Regions from separate parts of the Homo sapiens genome. Here regions 1, 2, 3, 4, 5 and 7 are each linked to region 6. The links are contacts of gene promoters, found by promoter capture Hi-C in blood cells and fetal thymus (Javierre and others, 2016). All regions are on one chromosome and are shown on one strand. Each heading gives the region's core, a stretch centred on a gene start or on the middle of the fragment in contact. The rest is flanking DNA. Distances are from core to core; before and after follow the strand shown.

Region 1 (3,993 bases), core at 711-3,210, 450 kb after region 6:
TCTTAAAGCCATTCAAAAGCTTTCCATTGATTTTAGGATATAATTCAAATCTTTAACATGGCCTATAAGTCCCTGTTTGATCAAGCCCCTACCTGCATTTCTAGTTTCATCTATCACCACTCTCCTAGTTCACTATGCCTATGCCATAATGGACTTATTTCAGTTTACCAAATAGGTCTGGGCCTTTATACTTGTTTCTTCTTCTATGTAGATTATTCTTCTAGATAAACCCCTTCACCCTGTACCCATTTGCATGCCCCCAAATATTCTCCTGTAGATTGTTTTTTATTTAAAAAAATTTTGGTAAAAAACACATAATATGAGATTTAGCCTGTCAATATATTTCTAAGTGTACAGCACAAGATTGTTTATGCACTTTTTCATCTTACATAACTGAAACTCTGTACCCATTGGATAGCAACTTTCCATTTTCCCCTCCCTCAAACTCCTGGCAACTGCCATTCTATCTTCTGTTTCTGTAAGTTTGACTATAAATACCTCATAGAAGTGGAATAATGCAGTATTTGCCCGCTGTGATGGCTTATTTCACTTAGCATAATGTCCTCAATGCTTATATATGTTGTAGCATATAGCAGGATTTTCTTCTTCTTAAAAACTGAATAATATTCCATTGTGTGTATATATCACATTTTTTTTAGTCATTAACATCATAAATGGACATTTAGGTTGTTTATACCTTTTGGCTGTTGTGAATAACGCTGCAATGAACATGAGAATGTGATTTTTTTTTTTTTTTGAGACAGGGTCTCACACTGTCACCCAGGCTGGAGTGCAGTGGCGTGATCGCGGCTCACTGTAGCCTCAAACTCTGGGCTCAAGCAGTCCCCCTGCCTTGGCCTCCTGAGTAGCAGGACTATAGGCGTGTGCCACCATGACTGGCTAATTTTTTTTTTTTCTTTGTAGAGAAGGAGTCTCACTTACTTTCTTTCCCAGGCTGGTCTTGAACTCTTGGGCTCAAGTGATCCTCCTGCCTCAGACTCCCAAAGTGTTGGGATTATAGGCATGAGTCACTGTGCCCAGCCATGGGAGTGTGGATATTTCATAGAAATCCTGTTTTCAATTCTGTTGGCAGTATGTTCAAAAGTGGGATTGCTGGATTAGATGGTAGTTTAATTTATAATTTTTTGAGGAACTTCCATACTGTTTCCTATAGCAGCTACACCATTTTACATTCCAACCCCAACTTTGTTAACACTTATTATTTTCTGTTTTTCTTTTCTCTTTTCTTTCCCTTTTCTTTTCTTTCCTTTTTTTTTTGTATAGTAGCCATCCTAAAAGATGTGAAGTGGTAGCTCATTGTGGGTTTGATTTATATTTGTCTGATTAGTGATGTTGAGTATCTTTTCATATACCTGTTGGCCATTTGTATGTCTTTTTTGGAGAAATGTCTATTCAAGTCCTTTGTCCATTTTTTTAAATGGGTTATTTGATATTTTATTGTTGAGTTATAGAAGTTTTTCTGTATTTTGTATTTTAACCCCTTATTAGATATATGGTTCACACATGTTTCCTCTCATTCTGTAGGTTGCCTTTTTACTCTGTTGTTTACTTTTCTGTGCAGAAGCTTTTTAATTTGATAAAGTCCCACTTGTCTATTTTTTCTTTCATTGCCTCTGCTTTTGGAGTCATTTCCAAAAAACCATTGCCAAGATCAGTGTTATAAAGCATTTCCTCTCTTCTGCTTTCTTCTACAAGTTTTATAGTTTCAAGTCTTTTTTTTTTTTTTTTTTTTTTTGAGATAGGGTCTTGCTCTGTCACCCAGGCTGGAGGACAGTAGCAAGGTCTTTGCTCGTATAGTTTCAAGTCTTATGTTTATGTCTTTAATTCACACAATACCATGAGATGATGTTTGTGTATGTTATGAGGTTATGAGGTTCCAAGTTCTTTTGCATGTGGATATCCAGTTTTCCCAGTACCATTTTTTGAAGAAACTATCCTTTCCACATTGTGGGGTCTTGGCACTCTAGTCAAAGATCATTTGACTGTATACGTGTGGGTTTATTTTTGGGATTTCAGTTTTGTTCTATTAGTTGGTGTGTCTGTCTTTATGCCACTAACAAACTGATCTAATTACTCTAGCTTTGTAATATGTTTTGGAGTTAGGAAGTAGGAGGCCTCCAGCTTTGTTCTTCTTTCTCACAATTGTGTTTGGAGTTCCTTGTGGTTACTTATGATATTTAGGATTATTTCCTTATTTCTGCAAAAAATACCATTGGGCTTTTGATAGAGATTGCATTGAATCTGCAGATCACTTTGGATAGTATGGACATTTTAACAATGTTAAATTTTTCAGTCCATGACCATGGGAAGCTTTTCCAGTGTCGTCTTTAATTTCTTTCAGCAATGTTTTGTAGTTTTTAGTGGACAAGTCTTTTGTCTCTGGATAAGTTTATTCATAAGCATTTTATTCTTTTTGAAGCTATTGTAAATGGGACTGTTTTCTTAATTTTCTTTTCAGATTGTTCAGTGTTAGTATATAGAAATGCAGCTGATTTTTATGTGTTGATTTTGCATCTTATAAAAGATTGATGAATTTTGTATTATTTATTAGTTCTAAGTTTTTTTTTTCTTTGGTAGAATCCTTAGTGTTTTCTACATATAATATCATGTTGTCTGTAAACAAAGATAGTTGTATTTCTTCCTTTCCAATTTGGATGTCTTTTGTTTTTCTTGCTTAATTGTTCTATCTAGGCTTTCCAGTACTACGTTGAATAGAAGTGGTGAGAAGGTATCCTAGCTTGTTCCTGATGTTAGAAGAAAACCTTTTAGTTCTTAACCCTTGAATATGATGTTAGCTGTGGGACTTTCATATATGGCATTTATTATGTAGAGGTTATTTCCTTTTATTTCTAGTTTGTTCAGTATTATGAAAATATGTTGACTTCTGTCAAAAGCTTTTTGTTTATTGAGATGATTGTGTGACATTTATCCTTCTTGCTTTTAATGTGGTGTATCACATTGATTGATTTTCATATGTTGTTGTTGTTGTTTTTGAGATGGAGTCTCACTCTGTCACCCAGGCTGGAGTGCAGTGGTGTGATCTTGGTTCACTGCAACCTCCGCCTCCTAGGTTCAAGTGATTCTCATGCCTCGGCCCCCTCAGTAGCTGTGATTACAGGCACACAGCCACCATGCCTGGCTAATTTTTGTATTTTTAGTAGAGATGGGGTTTCGTCATGTTGGCCAGGCTGTTCTCAAACTCCTGATCTCAAGTGATCCGCCCACCTCAGCCTCCCAGAGTGCTGGGATTACAGGCGTGAACCACCGCGCCTGGCCGATTTTTTTATGTTAAATAATCCTTTCATCCCAGGGATAAATCTCACTTTGCCATGGTGTGTAATCCTTTTAATGTGCTGTTGAATTTAGTTTCACTTTCAATGTGCTGTTGAATTTAGTTTCGCTAATATTTTGTTGAGGATCTTTGCATCTGTATTTATCAGGGATATTGGACTGTAGTTTTCTTTTCGTCTGATAGCTTCTTTGGCTTTGGTATTGATGTAATGCTGGCCTCGTGAAAGAAGTTAGGAAGTATTCCCTCCTTCAGTTTTTCGGAAGAGTGTGAGAAGGCTTGGCAGTAATTCTTTAAATGTTCGGTAACATGCCCTAATGTTACCATCTGCATGTTTCTTTGTTGGGAGATTTTTGATTACTGATTCACTCTCTATAACAGACTAGTTGTATGTCTGTTCAGATTTTCTGTTTCTTCACGATTCAGTCTTGGTAGGTTGTATGTTTCTAGGAATTTATCCATTTCTTCTATGTTATCTAATTTGTTGGCATATGATTTTTCATAGTAGTCTGTTATAATTATTTTTAATTTAATTTTTCTGTTTTTTTCTTACTCTAGATAAAGGTTGATGAACTTGGTTGATCTTTAAAAAAAACACTCAGTATTGTTGATTTTTTTCCTATTATTTCTGTATATTAAAATATGGTATAAAAAGTAACACCTTAATGGGATGCTTACTATGA
Region 2 (3,900 bases), core at 127-2,626, 430 kb after region 6:
TATAAATTTTTAATATAAATCTATCTCAGATACATGTATTATAAATACTTTTTCCTAGTCTGCAGCTTGTCTTTTTATTTTCTTAATGGTATCTTTCAAAGGGCAAACACTATGAATTTTAATGTCCAATTTAGCAATTCTTTATTTTTCATCATTTGCCTACCCATTGTTGTGACAGTTTTCTTCTTTGTTTTCTTGGTGTCCTTCTCTGTAAAATTGAGGTAATGTGAGAGTTAAATGAATTGATATATGTAATGTACTTTGAAAATGCCTCACATTTAATAAAAATGGTACAGTGTTAGCTGCCATTATTGTTACCACAACTCCTTTACTCATAAGTTATTTTTGAGGCTTTTGGATGCTGTCTCTACATCCCTGTCTCATCTTCATTCCTCTTAAAAATTTGTCATTGCCATTTTCTTTAAGGGTCTTTTGTTTACAAAAAAGGACTAAAGTTAAGATTTTCTGTATATTAGAGAAAGGATATCCTAGCATTCCATGTAGGGTATGATTTATATTACATGCCACTGTTTTGTAATCTACCAATTTACCAGTGACTTGGTTTCCTTTCATATGTGATGTTACAATGAGATTTATAGAAATTTTTGCCATTTCCTTCCCCCAAAAGGTCTAAAGCCCACCATGAATGTCATGATTTTCCCCTTTTGTTAAGGCTCCTTTGGTCATCTCTGACATTGGCTTCCACTGTATTTTATGCATACCTTACATGCCTTTTAGTGTGCTATGGAAGATGGCATTTTAGAGGGTATTGTTTTCGTTGTCAGTTTTGCTAAACAGAATTTAGGGGCTGGATTTTGATTGAGGTACATTAATTGGATTAAAAATATGAACATAATTAGCATGAAGGCAGTAATAGTTATACCAAAATGGAGTTTCAAATGAGTATAAACTAGGTCAAGGCAAGATGTTCTTCTTAAAATACATTACAGTATGATAATGATCCACCATAGTTGTTTGAGTCAGTCTCAGAAATGGAGATATTGTCCTGATTCTGTTCTCTATTATTTTGACCAAATATTTAATCAGTCTATCATTTTCCTATTATAGAGTGAGAGATATAATATCTTCCTAGCAAAAATAATATTAAGCAATGAGATAGTTAGTATTTAGCAAGTGATATAGTTCTTATAATAAACTCAGTATAATTTTTAGTCTACAGTCCAGATCTTATTGATCTCTTTTCTAAAAGTATCCCCTCCATCTGAGCCCCTCTCCTGAGCCCTAGATCAGGTACTGGGCTATCCACAAAGTAGTGCGTAGTGCTTGGCAATGAATAGGCAATTGGTAAGAGTGTTGTATTTAACCAAACTTTCAATTTTATCCCTGTTTCTTGTGGCTTTTTTTGTCTCTCTTTCCTGTGGATTCTATAAACTCAAGAAATCAATATTCTTATGGAGGGAAAAAAAGCAAACAAAAACTTACTGCAGCTGTTCTTCTTACAGTTTCTGTCTTTATGCTTTTCACACAAATGTTTTAAGAGAGTCAATTATTCTTAGTTTCCCATGTATCTTTTTAGCTTTTATAATTTAGTTATTGTTAAACTGTTTTAAACTATGTCTAATAACCTTAGGCCTCATAATTTTAGTGTATTTTCAGATTTTCTAGCTTTTGTGTAATAGCTCCTTATAGTTTCTTCTTTGCCTCCTCTGTAACACTTTCCCAGTCTTTTTCCTCCTGTCTGTCCTTTACATTTTTATTTTTATTTGTTTTGTTTTTAATGAATTACTCCAGATTTTATCTTCATCTCCTTTTTCTTCAACAAAGAAGATAGCTGAGTGAGGGAGTGAATTAAAATATTTCTAGGGCTTCGTTTATTTGCCTTTAAGCAGATGTTGCTTTCTTGAACGTAGCTGTGATTTTTCAGTTACTTTTTGGACATCTCCATTTTGGTATTAGCTGAATTTTTCATAGTAAAACTAATTGTTGAATATACTTGGTCCTACGTAGAAGGCAAGCTGTCTTATGTTCATCACTATGTCTTAATTGTCTAGCATAGTGCTTGGTACATAGTTGGCAATTAATACACATTTATTATATGAACAATTGATATTCTCCTGTGACCTGAAAGTTAACATGTTCAAAATTGAACATGTTGGAATCTGGAATTTTCCTTTGCTTCTGTATCTTCCCATTGTTTGAAGCATAGATCAAATGTTCCCTCTTCCCTAAAGTTTTCCTTAATCATCACAGTCAAAAATCTGTTTCCCTATTCTCTATTCCTTTACCAAATTATACTTTTATTGTACCTTTATTCTGGATTACATTTTATTTATTTATGTACAGAGTTTGCTGTACATAAGATTGAGGTCACTTGCTAACTTCTCCAAGATAAATTAACTATTTAATAATCTAAGGTTTTGGGAAAGGAAAGGGTTGAAAAGTGGATTTGTATCACTGTTCCTTCTGTATAGAATCCCCTCCCCATCTTGCTACTTTTCACTCATTCTTCAGCCTCAGGTGAGGCATTATTTTATCCAGGTGTTTCTGAGCCTGCTTTAAGTCTTGAATAGGTGACTTTTCTTTGTATTCCTCTATTATTAATTCCTTTAATAAATAATTATTGAGTGCCTTTATTGTGCAGACACTATGCCAGACAGGCCTTTGAGAAACAAAAAGGTAGGACTTTTGTGGCTGAGTATGTAATGTTTAGCTCATTATACAATTACGTATTACACAGATAAGGAAACTGAGGCTCAGATAAGTTCAGTGAATATACTAAGGTTACAAAATTAATAAATGGGAGAGCCTGGTTTCAGACTTTAGACTTTCTGAGTCCTTAGTATTCTTCCCATTATACTTTGGCATTCCTCAGTGAAAATGTTTTTTGAAAGATTTGAACCAAATCTTTCTAAGCTCTGGTATTTTGTTTCTTTTCCAGCACCACAGAGCATTCTCTTAACCATTTACTGTTACTTAGTAAAGGAGATACATGTACATGGAACCAATGCTGTTGACCAAAAGAGGATAGTTAACTTGATACTGGGCAGAAATACTTCCACTGAATTTGTGTCTTTGAAAACTGATTTTAGCATTTGCTTTACTCAAAGGATTTACAAGCCTCCAGAGTCGTCAGGGTTCTGTGGTATCTATTGTCTATGTTAATCTATGGATTTGTTTTATTTTTCCACTGGAACATTACAGCTCTCAAAATTCATAGCAAACACCCTACACTCTATTTATTTCCATTCAACAGTACGATGGTGTGAATTTGACAAAACTGTGGCAAATACTTAAGTTAGTATTTCACAAAATACCCAAACTCCTTTTGGCAGTTGATTTCCAGGCAGCTGATAAAACATTGAATTGGTAGGTGTTTTTTGTTTTTGTGGGTTATTCATTTTGATGTGGATACGGAAGGGTAGGGAAGGAGAAGTTGTTATGGTATAAAGACAGAGTTGGAAAAGTTGGGCTTATGTTGTTGTTTGTTTGTTTTTGTTTTGTTTTCCTGAGAATATTCTCTGTTACCCTGCAGTAAGCTGTCTACATTCCAGGATTCGACAGCCTGCTTGCTTAATAGCCTTCAAAAACATACATGTCCTGTCATACCTGTGCTATGTTCTGACTACTTGGTAACTTGTTAGCTCAGAGATTAATTTTAGGGATGTTTTATATAAGGAAACCTCTCCTCTAATGCTACCTCCTTTTGTTACCTGTTAATAGTCATGGTGTTAGGTTTATTGAATGACTTTTGCCTCTATATTATTTTCTTCTCAATGTTCTTTTCATTAGGAATATAATGGCCGGGCGCGGTGGCTCATGCCTGTAATCCCAGCACTTTGGGAGGCCGAGGCGGGTGGATCACCTGAGGTTGGGAGTTCGAGACCCGCCTGACCAACATGGAGAAACCCTGTCTCTACTAAAAATACATAGTTAGCTGGG
Region 3 (4,113 bases), core at 1,310-3,809, 380 kb after region 6:
TGCATGATACTTGTAAGAGGGATATGGAATAGAGGAAAGGGTGATGGTGGGCTGGGAGTACAAGTCTTTAATGGAGGAATTACCAGTTTTGGGGATGGATATATGTTCTTTCCTTATCTGCTTCCTATTGGTTCGTGTCCACTAATTTTGAAGGTTAAAACACTTACTGGTAGTGAATATTTTTATCAGTACAGCCTATGCAGAATATTGTAAAAGGAGAATTTTCCCAGATAATGTTGAATAATTGAATGGTAAGGTACTCTTCCACTATTTCTGAGTTATTTTATTTTGGAGAATATTCTAACAACACTTGGGGTTAAAACACTGGTGTTATATTTGTGCAGAAATGCAATCATACACTGTATCAGGCCCAAGCAAAAACATCAGGCTATCTTTCAGAACCTTAAATTTTGGCTTTCTTTTGAGATATGTCTATCTCCTAGCTGGCTTTTCTTCACAAATAATTCACTTTTATTCACAGTAAAGATTTATTGTGCTTTGTAACTATCTTGCTGTTTACATTTTATCATTTATCCTGTTTTCATGCAGCATTCACTTTGTTGTTTTTAAAAATGAAACAAATATTTTGAATAATCCATCACTAGTTTAAACTTTTCAGTAGCATCATGGAACTTTATGTGATGTCCTCTATATTTTGCCTGTGTGTTATAGTTTGTGTTTATAAATTATGACTATCACTGATCTGCATTTTCTAGGGTTTACAGAACAGTTTGCATTAATTGAGTTGTAACCTCGGATATGTCTGTATTTTATATTTCCTGCACATATCACTTGGACCTCTTCTCCAGTGTTTTTGTGCACATTTTTGCTAGGGAAATGTAAAGGAATCTGAGTTAGGCACTACAATCTGGAATTGTGATGAACTTAAAAAAAATCTAATAAAAAAACACATTCAGTGAGCACTGAGTGCTTACAGTGCATCCAGATTTTTGCTAGATAAAGAGTGGGGGCTTAAAAAATATAACAAGATGTAGTCTCTAACTTTGAGAATTGTGCTAAAAAATCAATAAGACACATGATCTCTGATCTGTGTGTATTACACAGGTCAAGTATTCCTTATCCGAAATGCTTGGGACCAAAAGAATGTCCAGATTTTGGATTTTTTCAGATTTTGGTATATTTACATTATACTGTTGAATATTAGTATCGCTAATCCAAAAATCTAAAATCCAAAATGTTCAATCGAGGATTTCCTTTCAAACATCATCCAAAATGTTCCATCGAGCATTTCCTTTCAAACATCATCCAAAATGTTCCATCGAGCATTTCCTTTCAAACATCATCCAAAATGTTCCATCGAGCATTTCCTTTTGAACATCATGTTGGCACTCAAAAGATTTAGGATTTTGGAGCACTTTGGATTTTGGATTTTTGGATTAGGGATGCTCAAAGTAACTTCCTAAAAAAACGGTGATTGCAAATATTTTAGCTATTTTGTAGATCTAAACACACTGATAACAGCTATTCTATAGGAAAATAGAGCCCAGTCCTAGGAGTTCTGATTATTAGTCACTTTCCCAGACCTGGCACATTATTTTTGTTATGTGGGCTGCTGTCTGCAAAAGAGGTATTCCAAACTCTATGTTTTAAGTACTCTACACTTGGCTCCACTTATTTTGGGGTAACTGCAGGTTAGATTATATATGTCAAAATTCTGAAAACAAAGTTACATGTACTAATACTTTTAGGAAATGTCTCAGCCTACTGTTTTACTTGACAGGAACCCTGTAGGTCTGTCCCAAGGTTATCTCCCTCTGACTGTTACCATTTTTCACATTGTCCTGCGCTTAGAGTTAAGAGAAGATGAATGTCATTACAGCTGAGATTCCTCCCTTGAGATGAGTATTTTCCATTTATACCCAGAAAGGTAAGTACATAAGGAAGAACTAGTGACAGTGAGTTAGAATCTTTTACCAAAGGGCTGTCTTTTTCCGTGGAAGTGTGCTACATGAACATTATAAATTCTAATCTGGGCCCCAGAATTGACCCACGTCTCACTTTCTGTTTTCACTATAGAAGAATTTGGGTCAGGGGAGAATAAAAATCTATATGGCTTGTGTAATTTTGACTAATCAAAATGTTAGCTATAGTGGTAAACACACTGCATTAATTGAATGAAGAGCCCTGGCTTTTCAGACCTCTTAGTAATTTATTGAGTATGGCCTTGGCTAAGTTACTTCTCTCTAACTTCTGAATTCCTCATATAAAATGAAGGGTTTGTACCCTAGATTATACTCAAGCTTCCATGATATATGAAGTATTTCTGAAGGATCTATTTTGTCCTAATTTTTTGTTAAAATTCAATGAATAGCAGTCAATTATAAATAGTAGTACAGATTTTTAATAGATCTTCATAAGTTTGAAACATTTGTATACATACTATTAAAAATTATTTTGACAACTTTATAGTGTAGATGATGGCAGGAGAAGATGCTCTGCCACTTATTTTACACACGGTCTCTAGATATGAAACTCCTTCAATAAATTAAAATTTCCAATAATCTGTAGCAGATCCAGGGAAAGATATCTGACATATACTTGATAACCCAATGTTAAGTGAAATAAAGTGAAAGTAAACATTAACCTAGCCATACTACGTTTTAAGTACTTGATACTCTTAGGAAATGATTTTTGAACTTTGCACTCAATTTCTGCTGTAGTTTGCTGCCTGTGCTGACATTGCTGTTTTGCTGAAGAAAGACTCTATTCAGAGTGCTTATATTTGTCTTTAACTACATGTTTCAACCTACAAGAGTGAAACAAATCCGCATATGTGTTTCTATATTGTCATGGAATTTTTAGTCCTCGAAGATAATTTTGTACTAATAGAAGCTTATAGTACAGTCATATACACTGAAGAGTCAAAACTAAGGAAAATTGTACTGCACATAATCTGCCTCATTTTAAGATCCATTGAGGTACTTTGAGAAATTTCCTCCAATTTTCACTTTTGAAGGAACATATCTTAATGTTTGCCCTAAAATTTCATGTAGCAGTTCCACTACTCTGCTCAGGATGTGGCTGTAGAGGTCCTCAAATGTGCACTGCTTTTCTACTTTATACAGTGTTATGAACACCTGCAGTTTTATGAATGAATAGACTAACCATTGATAATAATGAGTCTCTGTCCTCATCCGAAAGCAGCCAAGCATTGAGCACTGCCCTTCATCAGTGGCTATCAGACACTGGTTTATATTTGCACAGATGCTTGCTACAACAAAAGATAAGTTACTGTGAAAGAATAGCTCATCATATCAATTTCTGCTTCTTTGCTACAGCCCATTATTTACAAAATTTTTCAATTTCTCTGTTTTTTAACCTGACAACCATTCCATCTTCTATTGTCTCTTCTTTAATTGAGGGTTTATTTTGTGTTAGGCATCATATCCAGTGATACACTTACATTATTTCACTTAATCCTCACAGCAGTCCCCAAAAGTAAATAGGTAAATGTTAGTTTTATTATATAGATGAGAAACTGAGGGCTAATGAAGTTAAGTAAACTGTCCAAGCTCACATAGCTGTTAAGGGGTAAAGTTTTGAACCCAGGCCTGTCAGTTCATGAGGAATTGTCATAGCGGTAAACCACATTTTAAGATTACTTATCACATTTTCCCTACCTAGTATGCTTTTCTTCTCTGTACTGGCTTTTTTCTTCCTACCACTTATAAATAATATCATATTGAGCTTTGGCTGTAATCACATAGTAGTGCTTTACTCTAAATACATTTCTGCTTTGTTTTCAAATAGATTCTCAGTTCTAGAGGAAGGGAATTGTGTTTCTTATTAATTTTGTCTGTGACATATAGTAATTGCCTAATGAATACTTGACTGATTGAGTTATTAGCAAGCTTACTTTTAGGTCTGTTCTTTCTCTATTGTTTGGATATTTGAACGTCTTTGCTGTTAAGACTTCTGACTCTTACTGATATTACTTTTTCTTGTCTGGCAAACATAAGGTTTGAGGAAAGAGCGGGACAACCCAGACACCCAAGGAATAAGAAAGGGTTAGTTTTGATATCTAACTAGTAAAATTACATGATTTCTACCTATTGTGGCTTTTTTTGAGAAATACTTTTCATGAATCTTTTC
Region 4 (3,625 bases), core at 452-2,951, 470 kb after region 6:
TCCTCTCTTCCTATTTGGATGCCTTTTATTTCTTTCTCTTGCCTGATTGCTCTGGCTAGGACTTCCAGTGCTGTATATGTTGAATAGAGTGGTGAGAGAGGGCATCCTTTTCTTGTTCTGGTTTCAAGGGGAATGCTTCTAACTTTTGCTCAATTCAGTATGATGTTGGCTGTGGGTTTTTCATAGATGGCTCTTAATATTTTGAAGTATGTTTCTTCAGGGCCTAGTTTGTTGAAGGTTTTTTGTTTGTTTTTTTAATACAGAGTCTCACTTTGTTACTCAGGCTGGAGTGCAGTGGCGTGATCTCGGCTCACTGCAACGTCCGCCTCCCGGGTTCAAGTGATTCTCTTGCCTTAGCCTCCCAAGTAGCTGGGACTATAGGCATGGGCCACCACGCGCAGCTAATTTTTGTATTTTTTGTAGAGATGGGGTTTCACCATATTGGCCAGGCTGGTCTCAAACTCCTGACCCCAAGTGATCCACCTGCCTTGGCTTCCCAAAGTGCTGGGATCATAGACGTGAGCCACCACACCCAGCCTGTTGAGGGTTTTTAACGTGAAGCATGTTGAATTTTATTGAAAGCCTTTTCTGTATCTGTTGAAATGATCATGTGGTTTTTGCTTATAGTTCTGTTTATGTGGTAAATCACATTAATTGATTTGTATATATTAAACCAACCTTGCATCCCAGGGATAAAGTCCACTTGATCATGAAGGATTAGCTTTTGGATGTGCAGCCGGATTTGGTTTGCTAGTATTTTGTTAAGGATTTTTGCATCCATGTTCATCATTGATACTGGCCTGAAGCTTTCATTTTTTGTTGTGTCTCTGCCAGGTTTTGGTGTCAGGATGATGCTGGCCTCATAAAATGAGTTAGGGAGGAGTCTCTCTTCCTCAAGCATTTGGAATGGTTTTAGTAGGAACAATACCAGTTCCTCTCTATGCATCTGGTAGAACTCAACTGTGAGCTCATCTGGTCCTGGGCATTGTCTGGTTGGTAGGCTTTTTATTATTCATTCAATTTCACTTTACTATTGGTCTGTTCAGGGATTAAATTTCTTCCTGGTCCAATCTTGGGAGGTTGTATGTTTCCAGAAATTTATTCATTTCTTCTATGTTTTCTAGTTTGTGCATAGAGGTGTTCATAGTAGTCTCTGAGGGTTTTTTGTATTTCTGTGGGTTTGGTGGTAATGTCCCCTTTGTCATTTTTGACTGTGTTTATTTGGAGCTATCTCTCTCTCTTTCTCTCCTGTTTTTTTTTTAAGTCTACTTAGTAGTCTATCAGTCATATTCTTTCAAGGAACTAATTCCTGGACTCAGTCTTTTGTATATTTTTTTATGTCTCAGTTTCCTTCAGTTCAGCTTTGATTTTGGTTATTTCTTGTCTTCTCCTAACTTTGTAATTGGTTTCTTCTTGTTTCTTTAGTTCCTCTAGGTGTGATGTGTGATGTTAGATTGTTAATTTGAGGTCTTTCTAACTTTTTGCTGTGGACATTTAGTGTTATAAACTTTTCTCTTAACACTGCTTAAGCTGTGTCCCAGAGTTTCTGTTACATTGCATCTTTGATCTCATTAGTTTCAAAGAATTGCTTTAATTCTGCCTTTATTTTATTATTTACCCCATAGTCATTCAGGATAGGTTGTTTAATTTCCATTAAATTGTATGCTTTTGAGTGATTTTCTTACTATCAATTTCTATTTTTATTGCACTGGTTCAGTAGTGTGATTGCTATTGTTTTTATTTTTTTTTAATTTGCTAAGGATTGTTTTATGGACAATTATGTGATGGAATTTAGAGTATGTACCATGTACAGATGAGAAGAATATATATTTTGTTGTTTTTGGGTGTAGAGTTCTGTAGATATCTGTCAGGTTCTTTTGGTCTAATATTGAGTTCAGATTTTATCTTTGTTAGTCTTTTGCCTCAGTGATCTAATTCTATCAGTGGGGTGTTGAAGTCTACTATTATTGTGTGGTTATCTTAAGTCTCTTTGTAGATCTCTAAGAACTTGCTATATGAATCCGGGTGCTTTTATGTTTGGTGCATATATTTAGGATAGTTAGGTCTTCTTGTTGAATTGAACCCTTTAGCATTATGTAATGCCCTTCTTTATCTTTTTTTAATCTTTTTGGTTTAAGGTGTGTTTTGTCTGAAGTTAGAATAGCAACCCCTGTTTTGTTCTGTTTTCTGTTGACTTGGTAGATTTTTCTCTGTCCCTTTACTTTTAGCCAGTGGGTGTCATTGCACATGTGATGGTTCTCTTTTTGGCAGCATACAGTTGGGTCTTTCTTCTGTATCTAACTTGCCACTCTGTGCCTTTTAATGGGGGCTTTTAGCCCATTTACATTCAAAGTTTATATTGATAGGTGTGGATTTGATCCAGTCATCGGATTGTTACCTGGTTATTATGCAGACTTGATTGTGTAATTGTTTGTAGGGCTAATGGCCTATGTATTTAAGTGAGTTTTTGTGGTGTCTAGTAATGGTCTTTCCTTTCCATATTTAGCACACCCTTAAGGAGTGTCTATAAGGCAGGTCTCGTGGTGACAAATTCCTAGCATTTGCTCATCTGAAAAGGATTCATTTATGAAGCTTAATCTGGCAGGATATGAAGCTCTTGATTAGAATTTCTTTTCCTTAAGAATGCTGAATATAAACCCCCAATCTCTTCTGGCTTATAGGTTTTCTGCCAAAAGGTACACTGTTAGTCTGTGGGGTTCCCTTTGTAGGTTACCTGTCCCTTTTCTCCAGCTGTCTTTTATTTTGTCTTTTATTTCGACCTTTAAGAATCTGAAGACTATGTGTCTTGGGCATAGTTGTCTTATATAGTATCTCAGAGGCATTCTCTGCATTTCTTATATTTGAATGTTGGCATGTCTAGTGAGGCTGGGGAAATTTTCGCGAATTATATCCTAAAATATGTTTTCCACGTTGCTTGCTTTCTCTCCCTCTTTTTCAGGGACACCAGTGAGATGTAGATGTGGTCTCTTAATGTAATGCCAAATTTTTTAGAGGTTTTGTTTGTTCTTTTTTGAGTCTTTTTAATTTTAGTCTGAGTTATTTTGGGGAACCAGTGTTTGAGCTTTGGGTTTCTTTTCTCCAGTTGGCTAATTCTGATGTTAATACTGGATTGTCTTCTGAAATTCTTAAAGTGAGTTTCTCAGCTCTATCAGATCACTTTGGTTCTTTCTTACAATGGCCATTTCATTTTTCATCTCCCAAATCATTTTATTGTATTCCTTAGAATCCTTTATTGGGTTTCAGCTTTCTCCTGAATCTTGATGATCTTCATTCTTATCCATATTCTGAATTCTGTTTCTGTCATTTTAGTCATTTCAACCTGGTTAAGACCTATTGCTGGGGAACTAGTGTGGTTGTGTGGAGGTGAGAAGACACTGTGGCTTTTTAAATTGGCAGAGTTCTTACACTGGTTCTTTCTCATCTGTATGAGCTGAGCATTCAGTCTTTGAAGTTGCTGTCTTTTGGATGTGTGGTTTTTTTTTTTTTTTTTTTTTGCTTGCTTGCTTGTTTGTTTGTTTTTATCTTCTTTGATGCCCTTGGGGGTTTGATTGTGGTATAAGGTGAGTTTAGTCAACTGACTTTGTTTCCCTTCCTTTGGAGTTGT
Region 5 (3,589 bases), core at 1,047-3,546, 400 kb after region 6:
TCATAGTATTGAAGTATAAGCAGTCAGGATCTAGGCTTTGTATGTTTGGAAGTTGATTAAATTTGAAAAGCCTTAGCTTTTTGAAATTCTTTTTCTTTTATTCTTGTTCAAGTATCTTGGGATGGCTGTAGTAGAATGTGATTTGTAATGTATTTGTTTTCAGTGTGGCATGTCCAGATATTTTTCTTTCTTCTTTTTCAATTACTAGTTTTTGTCCAACTGTTTTCTGGTATTGAAGATTAAACAGGTTCGTTAGCCATCTTGATACAAGTATTATAAGGACCTGACAGGTCATAAGTCTCCTTGTGTAGAACACCTCACTCTTGCTTCCTGTGAAAGCATAAAATGTTAGAATTAGCAAAATCTGATCAACAGTATTTAGGCCCTTTCTTTATTGCTTTTACTTACTGACATCTTTTTCTCTTGTCAGGCTATTATTAGTGATCATGGCCTTATGAAATTCTGGTTGAATAAAGCACCTGGAGAAATAGTAATTTATAAATATGAAATGCGACTAAAGTCTATTAATACCAGACTTCTTTGCATATCAAACAAATATTGTGAATTTTTAGCGGGAGTATGTGAACTTGGAGTGTGTGACCATTTGCTTGGTGTTGGGGTCATTGTAAACTAATGCAACCAAATGCATCTCATAAGTAGGCAGTAGCTTGATTTTTTTCTTGTTTGTAAAAATAATAGTAGAAATGAAATGAACTCCTTTTTTTTTCTGCTTTTCTTGCACAGTTGCCAACAAAATATGCAGTCATTAAGCAAGCAGCAGGGTAATAAATATAATAAACATATATTTATTTTTATGAAGAAAACTTCTCTGCTTCTTGCAGTAGAATTCTTTGTGCTCTGATCACATCAAAAAAAGCAGTACCTGAGGTCATAGGTGTGCCTGGTAGCACAGTTAAGTTGGATATTTTCCCCCTTGTGTTTTTGTCACAAACATTGATCTTAGGGGTTTATAATTTGGTAGTGAATACTGGAAACATATATTCAGCTTCCAGTGTTAGTGTATAAAGAACACCATCTGATGGATTGGCCAGAGTTGAATTTGAATCTGATTTGGATACTTTTATTGTTACAATTTTGAAAGAGTTATTACTAAATCTGATAGTAATAGTGATGTGTTCTTTATAGTTATCACATTTAAGGAGTTTTCAAAATAAAATCCTCTGCATGTTATTTCTCTGAGAGAAAATTACATTATTTAGAATGTTTATATTTGCAAAACCCAGTAACATCTGTGGGAGCAGCTGGTTGTCACAGATATTTTCTATAGAAATTGCAGAATAATGTGTATTTATAATTTATAATTTAATTTTTATAATTATATAAAATATATATATTTTTAATTTATAATTCTACATGTAAAATTATGTTAATGTAAAATTATATATATAACAAAACATAGCTTATATTTATATATAATTATATATTTGTAATTTACAATTTTACATTAACATGTAAAATTATATTTACATTAACATGTAAAATTAAAAGTAATGTAAAATTTTATATTAACATGTAAAATTATAAGTTAATGTAATATATGTTAATACTATAGTTTACATGAGTTTCATAGGATAAAATTTTTTGTTAAACAATTCAGAGCTTTGAAAATATCAGTTGATGAATATCCTCAAGTATAGATTCTTCATTTTATTTTATTTTTTAAAGAAACATCCACCATCTGATGGTATCTGCAGGCTTTACCCCAGATGGTTCAGCCCATAAAACCATCCTGTTGTGATATACCAAAATATGTTTAAAAAGCTGTGCATGCCTTTATGATTTGATTTTTTTTTAAGGGATGATAGAGGTGCTTTATGTTTTTAAGGGACACATTGTATAAAGGAGCATCCAGCCAGGCGCGGTGGCTCACGCCTGTAATCCCAGCACTTTGGGAGGCCGAGGCGGGCCGATCACAAGGTCAGGAGATGGAGACCATCCTGGCTAACACGGTGAAACCCCGTCTCTGCTAAAAATACAAAAAATTAGCTGGGCATGGTGTCACACGCCTGTAGTCCCAGCTGCTCAGGAGGCTGAGGCAGGAGAATCACTTGAACTCAGGAGGCAGAGGTTGCAGTGAGCTGAGGTCACGCCACTGCACTCCAGCCTGGGTGACAGAGTGAGACTCTGTCTCAAAAAAAAAAAAAAGGAGCTTCCCCTTTCCCAACCCTATCTTTTACTATTTTCATAAAGTTGAGGTCTGAATTTACTTTCCAGATTGGGTATGTATTTGGTACAAACTTTATAGGTCAATGTTAGATCTAGTAATTATCCTTCAATTGTTGTCTTTGAGTTTATACAATAGAAGTTACTTGACTAGCGTTTTACTCTTTTTGTAGAAAACATATAATCCATATTCAAATCAACATTTAAAAATATTTGTAAAGAAAGAAATCCCTTATGTAGTATTCTTGCCAAAAATATTTAACTGAATCTAATCATGAGGAAGCAACCAGGCACGTCGAAATTGGAGGTTATTCTATAAAATAGTTTAAAATTGTTAGTGGCATGTAAAGCAAACAAAAAGGTGGGGAAGTTGTTCCAGATTCAAGAAGACCAAGAGAAAAGACAACTAAATACAACAATGCGTGATCCCCAAGTAGATCTAGATCCAAAACAAGAACAAGAAACATAACATATGGCCGGGCACGGTGGCTCACGCCTGTAATCCCAGCACTTTGGGAGGCCAAGATGGGCAGATCACGAGGTCAGGAGATCAAGACCATCCTGGCTAACACAGTGAAACCCATCTTTACTAAAAATACAAAAAATTAGCTGGGCATGGTGGCGGGTGCCTGTAGTCCCAGCTACTCGGGAGGCTGAGGCAGGAGAATGGCGTGAACCTGGGATGCAGAGCTTGCAGTGAGCCGAGATCACACCACTGCACTCCAGCCTGGGCGACAGAGCAAGACTCCATCTCAAAAAAAAAAAAAAAAAAAAAAAAGAAACATAACATACACTTGTAAGAGACAATTGGAAGAGTTGGAAGAATTCAAATATGTACTATTTTGTAGTTGCAATATAGAGTCAATATTAATTTTTTTGACTTTGATAATGATATTGTGGTTATAAAGAGAATATCCTTATTCTTAAGATTAAATGCTGGGACAGAGTGTCATAATGCTTGCAATTTACTTTCTTTTAAAATTGTTTTATTTTTAATTGACACATAATAATTGTGTATGTTTATAAGGTTGCAATTTACCTTCAAATGTGAAAGAAATGGTATATGTATTTGGCCAGAAAGGATGAAAGTAAACTTGTCAGAGTATTAACAATTATTGAATCCATGTGAAAGGTACATTGATGTTCATTGTACTTTTCTTTCAAGTTTTCTCTAGATGGAAATTTTTTTAAAAAGCTGGGGACAAAATCTCCACAAAGAATAAACTGTAATATTAGGACAGTGCAACTTACTATTTTGGTCCAATTTTTGTCCCTAACATTACCATTTGTAAGAGATTATTGAATATATGTTCAATACTTATTTATTATTTTGTTTCCTACAGTTTAATAATGCTACTCCATGATTTTAGAATGTTTTACAGTTTACAAAACATGGCTGGGCATG
Region 6 (3,679 bases), core at 828-3,327:
ACTCCCAAACTCCACAAGCGAACCACCAGACACTGGCCAAGGGGATGTGATCACATACTCTGATCCCAGAACTCAAGGGCAGAGGGTATCATCCCCACACGGTGCCCGAGGGCAGGCGAAGAATCAACCTTACTCTGAGATCAGAGAGCAAATGCCCTCAGATCCAGCCCTAAGGGGTCAATGCCGCCCAGGCCAGGCCTTGCCGAAGCCAGGGGCAGAGACGGCCCCGAAGCCCCCTCAATCTCCGCCAGAGCTGCCTCTACTCGCTCCCCCCAACACACACCCTCCCCTACCTGATATGGCGGCGGCGGCTCCTGATCCGGCTCCGTCCCCTCGCCAAAGCTAGCCCGGTCGGACTGAGACTCGTGAAGCAGGGAGATGTCATCCGAGGTGGGGGATTTGAGGCAGTTCCCCATCTTCCGGAGCTGGGGTGCGTGATCTGGGGGAGGAGAAAGCAGCGGTGGGGTCGTTCGCACACTCCGCGGTCCGCCTCGGTTGGCGAGGTGGGGTCGGGCGACAGGCCGGGGATCAGGCGGAGGCGACTCCACCGCCCCACGGTGCCGCCGAGGGGCCGCTCATGCCAGCCCCCGGGGTTGGGGGATCAAGGCTGGGCCGCGGGCTCCGCTGGGGTCGCGGCGTTCGCCTCCTGCGAGGCAGCGATGGGGGGGGGGGGGCGGGGAGACGAAGCACTTCCCCACCCCGCCCCCCCGCGGGGCGGCGGCGGCCACGGAGCTGCTGGGCCTAATCCAGGTCAGCGGGGGGGGGCGCGGCCGTCGCGGCTGCCTCAGCTGCTGCCTCAGCTGCTGCTGCCCCCGCCGACGCCGGAGCCACGGCCGCGGGCCTCATCCTACTCCGCCTCAGCGAGACGGCGGCAGCCAGAACGAGGCCGGCTCGGGCACTGCGTCATCGCGCCGTGCGTGCTCTGGTCCCGCCCCCGGCGCCAGGAGGCGAGGGCGGCTCCGGCGGCGCCCATCCCCCTCTCCACTAGCAGCTGTTCTCGGTGCTGCGTCAATTTTTGCTTCTCTCTGACTGCTTGGCTCCGTACCTGGCTCCGAAACCAATCTCCCGTCTCCCGCGCCTCCCCACATTCATTGCTCCTGCCCCGTCTAGGGCTCAGTTCTTACCTGTGCACTGCCTGACAGTCTTCTCACCACCCTCCGCCAAGCGGTCTATTTATATAAACCCATATCGGAATGGATCAGTCCCATGATTAAAATGTTAAAAGCTTCCCCTTTATCCCTTCACAATAAAGTCCTAGCTCGTTACTGAACCATCCCTGCCTGTCCAATCACGTCCTTATCCTTCCACATCACAGCCAGAGAGATTATTCTTCCAGTTGTATATCAGATTGTTCATTTCTTTCCAGTCCCAGCACCAAAGTCCAAGCCACCATCATCTCTCACCTTGGCTTCTGCAATAGACTCTCAGCTGTTCCTGAGTTCATCATTGCCCACATCCAATTCACTGTTGGCACAGTTGACAGAGTTATCTTTTTAAAATTTAAATCGGATCATGTCATTCTCCTGTTAAAACCTTCAGTGTCTCCTCAAGGCTGTCCTTAAGACAATCCTTAAATGGTTTACAAATCTGACTCCCTTTCAATCTCATTAGCAGCATTGTCACCTCCTTCACAAATTCTAAACTAGACTCTCTAAAATGCTTTTCGTTATCTGGAATACTATTGCCTCTGCCTGGGGCCTTTGTCCATATTGTTTCTCTCACAGAAACCCACTTCCCTCCACTCCCAACCTTTCTGCTTCTCATCAGGCTAATCATTATTCTCAGGAATCCTTCTGGATGCAACTTCATTTCCCCTGGGGAGACTCTCCTGACCCTCCAGTCTGGGTTAGTCGCATCCTGTGTGCTCTCAGACCCTGAGCTTTTCTCTGTCACAGCCTGATCAAGCTGAATCATCTGTCCCTCTGTGCAAGGCTGGCACACTGCCCAAGGTAGAGTATGCTCTCTCCTTGGTTGAATGAGCAGCTCAAACAACATATGCAAAAGAAGGAAGCAAGAAGGATGACAGTGCTCCTGATAGACGTTCATTCAACAGGTGGATCTTGACTGCCTTTCGTTTCATTCACCATTTACTGAAGTTGTGTGTGCGTGTGTATACCAGACCCCACGCTAAGGACTGGGGAAAAGGATGATCATACCTGGCTTGTTCCTGATAGAGCCCAGAGACCACCTGGGAAGACAAGTAATCAGGTGAGTCCTAAGCCCACACCCTGCCACGGACCCCAAGGTTTTTAGAGGAACTGAAAGACAGCAATTAGTTCATTTGAGTGAGGAACAGAAAGGATTCTTAGAGGTAGGGCTATATTAAACTCGAATGGGTCTGAACACTCTTACTCTGCAGTCCCTATTCTACGAAGTCACTATCTTATTTAAATGCACTCAAATTCCACATTAAATATCACCTTTTTGATATAAAATTTTTGAAAAGACTCATAATTTTGGGCCAGGCGTGGTGGCTTACGTCTGTAATCCCAGCAATTTGGGAGGTCAAGGCGGGTGGATCACTTGAGGTCAGGGATTCGAGAGTAGCCTGGCCAACATGGTGAAACCCCATCTCTACTAAAAATACAAAAACTAGCCAGGTGTGCTGGTGCACGCCTGTAGTCCCAGCTACTCGGGAGGGTGAGGCAGGAAAACCGCTTGAACCTGGGAGGTGGAAGTTGCAGCGCAGTGAGCCCAGATTGTGCCACTGCACTCTAGCGTGGGCGAGGGAGTGAGTAAGACTCAGTCTCAAAAAAAAAAGGAAGGAGAAAGAGAGAGAGAGAGAAGGGAGGCAGGAAGGAAGGAAAGAAGGAAGGGAGAGAAAGAGAAAGAGAAAAGAGAAAGAAAAGAAAGAAAGAAAGAAAAGAAAGAAAGAAAGAAAGAAAGAAAAAGAAAAAGAAAGGAAAGAAGGAAAGAAAGAACAAACTGACTCACAATTTTGGTTTTGGAATTGTTGAGCTTCCAAGAACTCATTTAATTTATGATTGGCTAAATTTACCAGAAATCAGAGGTACCCTGGAATTTTTACAAAGTGAGAAAATTTACCCCACAAATTATTGTCAAACCTAAAGAAATTTTTATTAATAATAATTTATACAATTATTTGACATAATATTTACACAGTGCTAGAATTTGTAGACATTGTTTGTTTGTTTTGGAGACAGGGTCTCACTCTGTCACCCAGGCTGGCTTGATCGAGGCTCACTGCAGCTTCAACCTCCTGGGCTCAGGTGATCCTCCTGCTTCAGGCCTCTCCAGTAACTAGAACTACAGATGCACACCACCATGCCTTGCATTTGTTTTTGTTTTTGGTAGAGACGAAGTCTTGCCATGTTGCCCAGGCTGGTCTCAAACTCCTGGGCGCAAGCGATCCTCCCGCCTCAGCCTCCCAAAGTGCTGGAATTACAGGTGTGAGCCACTGTATGCCTGGCCAGACATAGATTTATTTAGTTAGTTTTAATTTTTTTTAATTTTTATTTTTTGAGACAGAGTTTTGCTTGTGTTGCCCAGGCTAGAGTGCAATGGTGCGATCTTGGCTTACCGCAACCTCTACTTCCCCGGTTCAAGCAATTCTCCTGCCTCAGCCTCCTGAATAGCTGGGATTACAGGCGCGCACCACCACGCCCAACTAATTTTTTGTATTTTTAGTAAAGACGGGGTTTCACTATGTTGGCCAGGC
Region 7 (4,076 bases), core at 821-3,320, 360 kb after region 6:
CCTGAGCCTTCAGCAAGTATTAATCTTTTTGCTGGTGAAGGGTCTTGCCTCAACGTTGATAGGTGCTGACTGATCAGGATAGTGGTTGCTGAAAGTTGGGGTGGCTCTAGCAATTTCTTAAAATAAGACAACAATTACATTTGCTGCATTGGTTGGCCTTCTTTCATGAGAGGTTTCTGTGTAGCATGCAGTGCTGTTTGATAGCAATTTTTTTTTTTTTTCCAGACGGAGTTTCGCTGTTGTTGCCCAGGCTGGAGTGCAGTGGCGCAATCTCGGCTCACTGCAACTCCGCCTCCCAGGTTCAAGCGATTCTCCTGCCTCAGCCTCCTGAGTAGCTGGGATTACAGGCACCCACCACCACACCCAGCTACTTTTTTTTGTATTTTTAGTAGAGATAGGGTTTCACCATGTTGGGCAGCCTGGTCTCGAACTCCTGACCTCAGGTGTTCTGCCTGCCTCGGCCTCCCAAAGTGCTGGGATTATAGGCATGAGCCACCGCGCCCAGCCTGTTTGATAGCATTTTACACAAACTAGAGCTTCTTTCAAAATTGGAGTCAATCCTCTCAAACCCTACTGCTGCTTTATCAGTTAAGGTTATGTCATAGTCTAAATCCTTTGTTTACATTTCAACAGTGTTCACAGCATCTACATCAGGAGTAGATTTTCATCTCAAGAAACCACTTTTTTTGCTCATCCATAAGAAGCAACTTCGTATCTATTCAGGTTTTATCATAAGATTGCAGCAATTCATGCATATCTTCACACTCCACTTCTAATTCTAGTTATCTTGCTGTCTTCACCATATCTGCAGTTCCTCTGCTGAAGTCTTGAATCCCTCAAAATTATCCATAAGGGTGAGAATCAACTTCTCCCAAACTCTTGTTGATGTTGATATTTTGACCTCTTCCCATGAATTATGAATGGCATCTAGAATGGTGAATCCTTTCCAGAAAGTTTTCAGTGTACTTTGCCCAGATCCATAAGAGGAATCACTATCTACAGCAGCTATTATAGCTTTATGAAATGTATTTTCTTTTTCTTTTTTTTTTTTTTTTTTGAGATGGAGTCTGGCTCTGTTGCCCAGGCTGGAGTGCAGTGGCGCAATCTCGGCTCACTGCAACCTCCGCCTCCCGGGTTCATGCCATTCTCCTGCCTCAGCCTCCCGAGTAGCTGGGACTACAGGCGCCCGCCACTATGCCCGGCTAATTTTTTGTATTTTTGGTAGAGACGGGGTTTCACCGTGTTAGCCAGGATGGTCTCGATCTCCTGACCTCGTGATCCGCCCGCCTCGTTTTTCTAAATAACAAGACTTGAAATTCAAAAATAATCCTTGACCCATGAGCTACAGAATCGATGTTGTGTTAGCAGCCAGAAAAACAACTTTGATCTCTTTGTACATCTCTATCTGAGCTCTTGAGTAACCAAGTGCATTGTCAATGAATAGTAATAGTTTGAAAGGAATCTGTTTTTCTAAGCAGTAGGTCCCAGAAGCTGGGTTAAAATATTGAGTAACCCATATGGTAAAGAGATGTGCTGTCATTCAGGCTTTGTTGTTCCATTTAGAGAGCACAGGCAGAATAGATTTAGCATAATTCTGAAGAGACCTAGGATTTTCAGAATGGTCAATAAGCATTGGCTTCAGTTGAAAGTCACCATCTGCATTAGCCCCTAATGAGAAAGTCAGCCTGCCCTTTGAAGCTTTGAAGCCAGGCATTGACTTCTCTTTTGCTGTGATGATGTTTTCTTCCAATAGAAGGCTGTTTTATCCACATAGAATGTTACTACTGCTGTTTAGTGTAAGCATCTTCATCAATTAGCTAGGTCCTGAATAAAACTTACTACAGCTTCTACATCAGCACTTGCTGCTTCACCTTGCATTTTCATGTTATGGAGATGACTTCCTTCCTTGAACTTCTTGAGCCAACCTCTGCAAGCTTCAAACTTTTCTTCTGCGTGTCCTCACCTGTGTCGTAGAATGTAAGCAAGTTTGGTCCTTGCTCTGCATTAGGTTTTGGCTTAAGCAAAAGTTTCGACTGGTTTAATCTTCTATTCAGACCACTAAAACTTTCTCTATATTAGTAGTAAGGCTGTTCTGCTTTCTTATTATTTGTATATTCACTAGAGTAACACGTAATTTCCCTCAAGAACTTTTCCTTTGCATTCACAATGTGGCTATTTGGTGCAAAAAAACCTTGCTTTAAGCTTATCTCAACTTTCAACATTTCTTTCTCATTAAGCTTAATCATTTTAAGCTTTTGATTTAAAATGAGAAACATGACTTGAACACTTAGAGGCTATTGTTGGATTATTAATTGGCCTCGTTTCAATATTGTGTCTGAGAGAATAGGGACTCCCAAGGAGGAGAGAGATGGGGAACTGGCAGGTCAGCAGAGCAGTGAGGACACATACAACATTTATTGATGAAGTTCATTGTCTTGTGGGCATGGTTTGTGGCGCCTCAAAACAATTACAATAGTAACATCAAAGATCATAGATTACCATAATATATATAATAATAGTGAAAAAGTTTGAAACATTGCAAGAATTACCAAAATGTGACACAGAAACATGCAATTAGCGTGTACTATTGGAAAAATGGTTCTGATGGACTTGCTCGATGCAGGGATGCCATAAACCTCTAATTTTTTCTTTCTTTTTTATTTTTGAGATGGAGTCTTGCCCTGTCACCCAGGCGGGAGTGCAGTGGCGCAATCTCGGCTCTCTGCAACTTGTGCCTCGCGCGTTCAAGTGATTTTCTTGCCTCAGCCTTCCGAGTAGCTGGGACTACAGGCACATGCTGCCATGCTCAGCTAATTTTTTGTATTTTAGTAGAGACGGGGTTTCACTGTGTTGCCCAGGCTGGTCTTGAACTCCTGAGCTCAGTCAGTCAGTCCGCCTTGGCCTCCCAAAGTGCTAGGATTATAGGCGTGAGCCAATGTGCCCGGCCCCTTCAATTTTTTAAAAATGCAATATCTTCACGGTGCTGTAGAGTGTAATAAAATGTGTTTGCTTATACAAAATTCTGTCAAATGATTAAGATTGAATTCATGCAAATTAAAACTGGTCTAGAACTAATGAAGTCCATAAAGTTCAGCAAATGCATGTACAGGAAACACTTTATAAGGATACCATCATAATGCATGGTATGAAAATAAATCTTTCTGAAGATGAACTCAGTTGTTAGACGTTATATACCACAGGAGAAGCCACAATCACATTCAGCAGATGCCAAAATCATAGAACTAACAACTTGAGAACTGGTAACAAAGAGACTTTAAGGTAGATATGTTTAAAATATGTAAAACTGTAGAGAATAGAACTTATAAGCCAGAAATAGTGAAAAAATAGAATAGATTGGATTTTATAAAGAATCTAAAAGTACATCCTCAAAGAAAAAACTCTATACTAGGTAGGTAAATTGGAAAACTATAGGTTTAAAAAAATGGTATAGAAGATAAAGTAAATCATCACTGTACAAATTTGTATAGAAAATTTAAAAGATGACATGGAGGCTAGAATGAGATGCACCTCCATGGCAAGTAGGAGCTCTGAAAGAGCAGAATTGATTATGTAGGAGAGATAATATTCAAATGAATAAAAGTTGAGAATGTCTTAGATTTACTAAAACATGCAACAACAAACACCATGTCATATACTTAACTCATAATAACAAAATAAAAAATAAGCACTAAAAGCCACCAGAGAATGGGATGATTAGAAAATAAGTAGAAGTGTGGCAGACTCAAGCCCAACCATAATAATTACATGAAATATAAGTACTTTAAATACTTTGATATAGAGGCAGATGTTGTTGTAGTGGATAAAAAGCAAGACCTGACTATAGTCTGTCTAAAAGAAATGTACTATAAAAGTAAAGCCACAGTTAAAAAATATGGAAAATTATATACTATGAAACTATTATTGAAAAGCTAGATGACAATATTAATACCAGACTAAGTAGACTTGAGTACAAGGCATATTACCAAAGATAAAAGAAACATAATCGCGGGAGAATCAATTTTTCAAGAAGGTAACACTTCAAATTTGTGTACACTCATTGTCAAGCAAAAATTGGC

What was found. Contacts are between HindIII fragments. The CHiCAGO score rates a contact against its expected background, and 5 or more counts as called.
Region 1: a contact is called between a fragment that was not itself captured here and the fragment with the promoter of LINC01562 in region 6, in 5 of 17 cell types (naive CD4 T cells, M2 macrophages, megakaryocytes and 2 more). The highest score is 9.7, in naive CD4 T cells.
Region 2: a fragment that was not itself captured here is called in contact with the fragment with the promoter of LINC01562 in region 6 in 1 of 17 cell types (naive CD4 T cells); the score reaches 6.5 in naive CD4 T cells.
Region 3: a contact is called between a fragment that was not itself captured here and the fragment with the promoter of LINC01562 in region 6, in 2 of 17 cell types (megakaryocytes and M1 macrophages). The highest score is 6.6, in megakaryocytes.
Region 4: a contact is called between a fragment that was not itself captured here and the fragment with the promoter of LINC01562 in region 6, in 12 of 17 cell types (fetal thymus, naive CD4 T cells, naive CD8 T cells and 9 more). The highest score is 9.4, in fetal thymus.
Region 5: a contact is called between a fragment that was not itself captured here and the fragment with the promoter of LINC01562 in region 6, in 1 of 17 cell types (M2 macrophages). The highest score is 5.6, in M2 macrophages.
Region 7: a fragment that was not itself captured here is called in contact with the fragment with the promoter of LINC01562 in region 6 in 2 of 17 cell types (activated CD4 T cells and total CD8 T cells); the score reaches 5.3 in activated CD4 T cells.

The regions. Positions count from the first base shown.
Region 1 is chr1:50,782,896-50,786,888 of GRCh38, reverse strand. All of the region lies in intron 4 of FAF1 (Fas associated factor 1), which reads left to right. Among named protein-coding and RNA genes, the nearest start is that of FAF1, 180 kb to the left of the region's middle. The HindIII fragment of the contact is 746 bases long and covers 1,588-2,333 here.
Region 2 is chr1:50,802,249-50,806,148 of GRCh38, reverse strand. All of the region lies in intron 2 of FAF1 (Fas associated factor 1), which reads left to right. Among named protein-coding and RNA genes, the nearest start is that of FAF1, 160 kb to the left of the region's middle. The HindIII fragment of the contact is 6,777 bases long and covers 1-3,900 here.
Region 3 is chr1:50,852,117-50,856,229 of GRCh38, reverse strand. The region is part of intron 2 of FAF1 (Fas associated factor 1); the gene reads left to right. Among named protein-coding and RNA genes, the nearest start is that of FAF1, 110 kb to the left of the region's middle. The HindIII fragment of the contact is 592 bases long and covers 2,264-2,855 here.
Region 4 is chr1:50,766,682-50,770,306 of GRCh38, reverse strand. All of the region lies in intron 4 of FAF1 (Fas associated factor 1), which reads left to right. Among named protein-coding and RNA genes, the nearest start is that of FAF1, 190 kb to the left of the region's middle. The HindIII fragment of the contact is 1,786 bases long and covers 809-2,594 here.
Region 5 is chr1:50,836,325-50,839,913 of GRCh38, reverse strand. The region is part of intron 2 of FAF1 (Fas associated factor 1); the gene reads left to right. Among named protein-coding and RNA genes, the nearest start is that of FAF1, 120 kb to the left of the region's middle. The HindIII fragment of the contact is 4,774 bases long and covers 1-3,589 here.
Region 6 is chr1:51,233,494-51,237,172 of GRCh38, reverse strand. It overlaps LINC01562 (long intergenic non-protein coding RNA 1562), which reads left to right and starts at 2,077. Exons shown (of 2, transcript NR_147076.1): 1 at 2,077-2,208. RNF11 (ring finger protein 11) reads right to left here and starts at 900. Exons shown (of 3, transcript NM_014372.5): 1 at 294-900. The coding sequence starts at 416. RefSeq lists a silencer at 636-1,115. The HindIII fragment of the contact is 11,293 bases long and covers 1,228-3,679 here.
Region 7 is chr1:50,869,046-50,873,121 of GRCh38, reverse strand. All of the region lies in intron 1 of FAF1 (Fas associated factor 1), which reads left to right. Among named protein-coding and RNA genes, the nearest start is that of FAF1, 89 kb to the left of the region's middle. The HindIII fragment of the contact is 268 bases long and covers 1,937-2,204 here.